Regions from separate parts of the Homo sapiens genome. Here region 1 is linked to region 2. Evidence: promoter capture Hi-C in 16 types of primary human blood cells and fetal thymus (Javierre and others, 2016). All regions are on one chromosome and are shown on one strand. Each heading gives the region's core, a stretch centred on a gene start or on the middle of the fragment in contact. The rest is flanking DNA. Distances are from core to core; before and after follow the strand shown. Region 1 overlaps ABHD2 (abhydrolase domain containing 2, acylglycerol lipase). Region 2 holds the start of MFGE8 (milk fat globule EGF and factor V/VIII domain containing).

The links. Contacts are between HindIII fragments. The CHiCAGO score rates a contact against its expected background, and 5 or more counts as called.
Region 1: a fragment that was not itself captured here is called in contact with the fragment with the promoter of MFGE8 in region 2 in 6 of 17 cell types (M0 macrophages, M1 macrophages, naive CD4 T cells and 3 more); the score reaches 7.8 in M0 macrophages.

What each region holds. Positions count from the first base shown.
Region 1 is chr15:89,172,512-89,175,791 of GRCh38, reverse strand. All of the region lies in intron 5 of ABHD2 (abhydrolase domain containing 2, acylglycerol lipase), which reads right to left. Among named protein-coding and RNA genes, the nearest start is that of RLBP1, 47 kb to the left of the region's middle. The HindIII fragment of the contact is 4,890 bases long and covers 1-3,280 here.
Region 2 is chr15:88,911,503-88,914,775 of GRCh38, reverse strand. MFGE8 (milk fat globule EGF and factor V/VIII domain containing) reads left to right here and starts at 1,397. Exons shown (of 8, transcript NM_005928.4): 1 at 1,397-1,529. The coding sequence starts at 1,457. RefSeq lists an enhancer at 1,656-2,187. The HindIII fragment of the contact is 11,396 bases long and covers 1-3,115 here.

The DNA.
Region 1 (3,280 bases), core at 456-2,955, 260 kb before region 2:
TTGCTCAATCATTTCAGGTGCATCCTATCTGGAGAAAATGCAAGCTGGAACGTTACTAAATGGGTGCCAGTATACTAAAAGAGAGAGAAATATATATGTGTATATATACGTGTGTGTGTCGGGGGATGTGTGTGGAGAGAGAGACAGACACTGCTCTTTGGCTATCCAGACAGAAGTTCCCAGATGCCCCTTGGGATAAGAGGAAACAGGGCCTCAGCAGTGCCAAAGCGTGGAGGTACCATGTATCAAATGTACAATGCTTCTTAAAAGGTAGGTCACAAGAACCGTGTCTAGATAATCATGGATATCAAAGCAGATTTCAGGGTGTGCATGAGCACATATGCTCACACACAGACCTAAATAAAAGCTAGGCCAGCCTGGACAAAATGGTGAGACCCCACCTCTACACACTACAGGTGTGTCCTTGTAGTCCCCGCTACTTAGGAGGCTGAGGCAAGAGGATCCCTTGAGCCGGGGAGGCAGAGGCTACAGTGAGCCAAGATCGCATCACTGCACTCCAGCCTGGGTGACAGAGTGAGACCCTGTCTCAAAAAAATAAAATAAGTAAATAAATAAATAAATGCAAGAGCAAAATCCTTTGAGATTAGCTTCCTAGGCTACAAATTGGGATGCTATACCCATGTGTATGATGATTCATGGTGTTAAGAAAAGTAGCAAGTGGATGTTATTTACAGAATCTTCTTGACAGAGTTGGAAAGGAGAGGAAAGATAAACTTCAGTCCAGAGGGACTGCCAGGATGCTCTGTAGGATTAGGGTAAAACGTTCTTGGTGACATAGGGACAGGGTGCCAAGGGAGGCAGGCTCATTCAAAAATACACAGATGAGACCTCTTAACAGAGAGGGTTGTTTGGGCCTCATTTGCCCAGGAGAGATGATCTCAGCTGGTGTCCCCTTGGGAAGTTATTGAAGCCATGTTATGTCTCAGCAGCTTTGCTAAGAGGAGGAGGTGAATGGCCATATTACAAGTGAAGGGATTCATCACATCCTTCTAAGGCCCAACCTCAAACTCTGTAGGGAGCCAATTTAAAATCTAACATGGAAAGATAGGGATGTCGACGCAAAGCACATACAAAATAGACTGGCATGAGAAGAGTACGGATTTACAATGGAAACGGGAGTTGTTGACTTTGGCACCAGCTCAGAGGTTTTGGCATTCTTAATAGAGTTGAACAGCTCCTTCCCTAATCATCAAGCCATGGGGGAAAGTATCTTTTGAGCCTGGGGTAAACTCCCCTTATATCTGTCTTCTTTTGTGGTAGGATGTAGCCTAAGCCAGGCCGGCACAGCCCCATGCAGTTCTTAAGCTGCAGTGTGCATAGAATCACCTGGAGAGGGTGTTAGAAATGACCATTCCTGGGCCTCAACTCCAGAGAAGCTGATTCTGTAAGATGGGGACCAAGCCCAGGAATCTATAGTGACTTTGTTTTTGAGTAGGTAATTCATGCCCATGGTAGAAAATTCAAATGCTGTAAAAGATGGAGTGAAAGGTAAGTTTCCTATATTCTTTTTAAAAATACCAGTGGTAACATACACATTGTTCGGTGGCTCTTTTTTTCCCTTTACAATATGTCTGGCAATATTATGCATCAATACACTTGAAACTGCCCTATTCTTTTTTATTTTTAATGGGGTATAACATACATACAGGAAAATGCACAATCAATGAAATTTTACACATTTATACCCAGGTAAGCATTGCCCAGATGAAGACGCAGAATATTTTTGACACCCCTGGAGGCCTCCTCATGCCTCTTCCCAGACAGTATCCCCTATACTTTTGACTAATAATCATGATCTGGAAATGCTGGGGGCTTAGAAGGAGCTTAAGCAAGAGATGCCTAAAACTAAGGGAAAAACCGGGCCAAGAGCTGCTTCCTCCCAAACAGCAGGACCCAGGCACCAACTTTGAGAAGGCAGCCCGTCTCCCTCTCCAGTGAGATAGTAGAGGATCAAGCTGCTTATTTTTCTCCCTCTTACACTCAGCAGAGGCTGGGGCAGTTTGCAGGCCTTCAATAAAGAGTTGCTGAATTGAGTGGATTCTGATGACAAGGCCTCTGAATGGGCCCTGAGGACAGGGAAGGAACAAAAACCTGGTCCAGAAGGATCCTTGAACTCTTAACTTTGGAATGTGAAATGCCAGACTGTTGTCCCCACCGAAGTCAGATTCATTCAAGTTTCTTTTTGTTCGTTTGTTTTTGAGACAGAGTCTCGCTCTGTCACCCAGGCTGGAGTGCAGTGGCACAATCTTGGCTCACTACAACCTCTGCCTCTCAGGTTCAAGCGATCCTCCTGCCTCAGCCCCCTGAGTAGCTGGGGTTACAGGCATGTGCCACCATGTCCAGCTAATTTTTGTATTTTTAGTAGAGACAGGGTTTTGTCTTGTTGGCCAGTCTGGTCTTGAACTCCTGACCTCAGGTGATCTGCCTGCCTCCGCCTCCCAAAGTGCTGGGATTACAGGCATGAGCCACTGCCCTGGCCAAGTTTCTCTTTTTAAGAAGGTAGCAATGGAAGGAATATTATGCCTCCAGGGAATGCTGGATTTCAAAATGTAGCTGTGATATAAAAAAGGGGATGTGCAAACAAACAGCTGAGAGCACAATGAGCAATTAGCTGATATCAGCTTCTACACCACGCAACAAATAAAAAATTTAGAAATCCCAAAGGAGACATTTGTTCACCTCCCTTGGGCCATAACAGGCACTGAAAACCAGGCCTTAAAGGAGCAGCCTGGCCTCATGGCTAAGTGAAAAGGCCCTGTGGCCAGACTGCTTGGGCCTACCACTTAGTGGCCCCAAATGTTCTCAATTTCTCTTTGATGACAAGTAACCCCCGTATACAGGGAAAATCTTCAGCTTCCAGGCTCCTTTCTGGAGGCTTAGAACCTACAGGAATAGGATGAGGCCTGGGAATGGGAACTTTCAACAAACAGCCCAGACAATTTTTGTAGTGAGGAAACTGTGCAAAATACCGTTACCTTGGGTAAGTTACCAAACTCTCCTAGGTCTGTTTCATCATCTGTAAAATGGAAGTAACAAGAGTAAAGACTTCGTAGAGTTGTTTAGAGATGTGAATAAAGTGATATACATAAACAGCTTAGATCAGGGTCCAGAGCATAATAAGCATTCAATGTTAATGGCTATAACTGACTCTAATTATTTTCTCTTTTAAAAATATGTAAGTATACCCATGTTTATAGCAGCATTATTCACAATAGCCAAAAAGTGGAACCAACCCAAGTGTGCCTTGATGGATGAATGG
Region 2 (3,273 bases), core at 148-2,647:
TCAGCCTCCTGAGTAGCTGGGACTACAGGCATGCGCCTGGAATATTTTTGTATTTCTTTTTTTGTAGAAACAGGGTTTTGCCATGTTGCCCAGGAAGGTCTCGAACTCTTGAGCTTAAGTGATATGCCTACCTCGGCCTCCCCAAGAGCTGGCATTACAGGCTTGAGTCACCACTCCCAGCCTGAAGCATTATTATTATTATTATTATTATTATTATTATTATTATTATTAGAGACAGAGTCTCACTGTGTCACCCAGGCTGGAGTGCAGTGGCATGATCTCGGCTCACTGGGACCTCTGCCGCCTGGGTTCAAGCGATTCTCCTGCCTCAGCCTCCCGAGTAGCTGGGATTACAGGCACCTGCCACTGCGCCCGGCTAATTTTTGTATTTTTAGTAGAGACGGGGTTTCACCATCTTGGCCAGGCTGGTCTTGAACTCCGACCTCAGGTGTTCCACGTGCCTCGGCCTCCCAAAGTGCTGGGATTACAGGTGTGAGCCACCGCACCCAGCCAAAACACTATTATTAAAATCACTTATTTGTAAACAGGTAATATTTGCACATGATAAGTACAAATCATTTAGTAAAAAGTCAACGGTGACAGGCTTGCTTTGTTTTATTCCCTTTCGGCAAACAGGTGCCCATTTCCTCGCATTTTGTCTATGGTGCCTTTCTTGCAACAAAGGCAGAGATGAATAGCTGCTACAGAGACTCAGGGCCTACATATCAGAGAACATTTTCTATTAGGCCCTTTACAGAAACCTTCGCTGATTTTTTTTTTTTAGTATTTTACCATTTCAGACAATGTTGCTATGCTATCTTTGTATATCTGTCATTTTGCACATGGGAGTTTCTGTAGAATGAATCTCTCTATGTGGAAATGCTAGGTCTTAAGGTGTCAGCATTTGTCGTTTTGATAGGTGTTACCAAATAGCCCTCTAGGGAAGTTGAACTAATTTATACTGTCTTCAGCGAAGCATGCTTGGACCTGTTCCCCACAGCCTCCACTAACCTTGTTAACATCTTGATACTTGCCGATCCGAGAAGGGAAACACGATGCTCATTGTAGTTTTAATTTGCATCTATCTGATTATGAATAAAGAGTTAGCATCTTTTCAAGTCTAAAAATCTTAAAAACAAAACTCCTGAACTTTTCCCGCCCAACAGACTCAAGACTCGTGACCCGGCCGTTGGCACGACGCGGGACGCCGGTGTGGCAGTGGCGGAAGAGGCAGATATCGCGGACCACCCCCGCGCCCCCCAATTCCTTTCAACCAATTCCCTCCCAGCCGCGGAGCCCCGCCCCCAGTCCGCCTCTGGCCAGCTTGGGCGGAGCGCACGGCCAGTGGGAGGTGCTGAGCCGCCTGATTTATTCCGGTCCCAGAGGAGAAGGCGCCAGAACCCCGCGGGGTCTGAGCAGCCCAGCGTGCCCATTCCAGCGCCCGCGTCCCCGCAGCATGCCGCGCCCCCGCCTGCTGGCCGCGCTGTGCGGCGCGCTGCTCTGCGCCCCCAGCCTCCTCGTCGCCCTGGGTGAGTGGATCGCGCCGCCCTCTGCCCCTCGCCCCTCCTCCCCGCGCCGCTCGGAAGTTTGCCCGGCGCCCGCCCTCCACCTCCACTGTTGACAAACTTAGACAAAGCCCCGGGGACCGGGCTGGGCAGAGGGGCGGCTTCTTCCGCTGCGCCCTGGCGGGACAGGGGGATGCGGCCCTGCTGTCTCTGCGCTGGGGCTTTTGGGCTGGGACTCGGGACATCGGGTGACAGCCCTGCCGCCCCCAGGGATGCGGCTTACAGATAATGACAAAGGAATCCGCTGTGTCGGGCCTCTCTTTTCCCTGGTGAAAAATGAGGCCAGGGAACTGCGTTTGACTTTCGAACCCCTTCCACCTGGGAGATTCTAGGACTCTAGTATGGATAAGTCTTGTCTGGATAACTTTGTCCTGGCCATCTCCCTGCCAACTCCAGTTGGCTGGACAGTTCATTGGATTTTTGCGCTCCCAATTGTCCGTGCCTGGTCACATAAGGGAAGGGCCGGGGAGTCGGTGCAATGGACGCAGGCCGTAAGTGGGGCCCGGGAGGGGACCCAGAGGCTTCGAGGAGCTTGGAAGAGGGCTGCCTGCTGATGGGAGTCTCCTGACTCCCTCCCTCCCGCGGCCTTGGCCGGCTGCTGTATCTTCCCCGGTCCTCCTCCGCCTCCCAGGAGGCCTCCGGAGGCCAGCTGGGCCCCTTGCAGGCTGGACTTGCGGATGCCCCGTGCCATTCACCGTGGAGCGCTGGGAGGGAGTCAGGGCCAGGACTCTTTAGGTGGCCCCTCCATCATTTTCTCATAGAAATGGGATTGACTGAAGCAAGGTAGGTAACAGCTGAGCCCCAGCCCTATGTCCTGTGATCTGCCTGACCCTCGGGGCTAGAGCTTCCAGAGTGCTCCAAGCTCCCAGGAACTTGGGAGCTCCTGGCCCTCCCCGGCCACCATGAAAGACAGCTGGATCTTCTTAGCCCCTTTCTACTCTTCCCTGTACCCCCCAACCTGAACTCTGGCCAAATGTTACTGGAAAGTCCCCGAAAGAGCAGGACTCTGAAGTCCCAAAGATGTTTTTATACAGGGTGATGTGGCCTTTTCCAGAAGGAGGAAACACCATACCTATCTTACACACAGGTAACGTGGCTGGGTAGAGTACACCTTTCCCTTTCCCTTTTTCCCACTGGACCGTTTTGCCCTGGAGCAGTGTAGGGAGAGGGCCGGTGCAGTTGGGAGGGAAGAGTCCATTCCCAACCCAAGCCTCTGTCTGTGTCAATGCTCGCCCCCGCCTGCCAGGTCAGAGGAAGGATTACCTGCTATTTAAAGCCAATGACTAATAGCTCCTTGGGAGCCACTTTAAGCTCCTGAGGCCCCTGGAGGGGGAGCTCTGAGGGCAGATCGCTCATTAATGGTGTTGTTGCCTTCCCTGGAGTGGGATGAAGGGGCTTTGAGATTTCAGGAGGACTCTCCAGCCTTAGATGGGTGACTCTGAGGGGGAGGCAAAAAGGTTTTTTTTTTTTTCTTTTTTCTTTTTGAGATGGAATCTTGCTGTGTCGCCCAGGCTGGAGTGCAGTGGCGCGGTCTTGGCTCACTACAAGCTTCGCCCGCTGGGTTCATGCCATTCTCTTTCCTCAGCCTCCCAAGTAGCTGGGACTACAGGCACCTGCCACCACGCCCGGCCCGGCTAATTTTTTGTATTTTTAGTAGAGACGGGGTTTCACCGTGTTAGCCAGGATGATCTGGATCTCCTGACCTCAT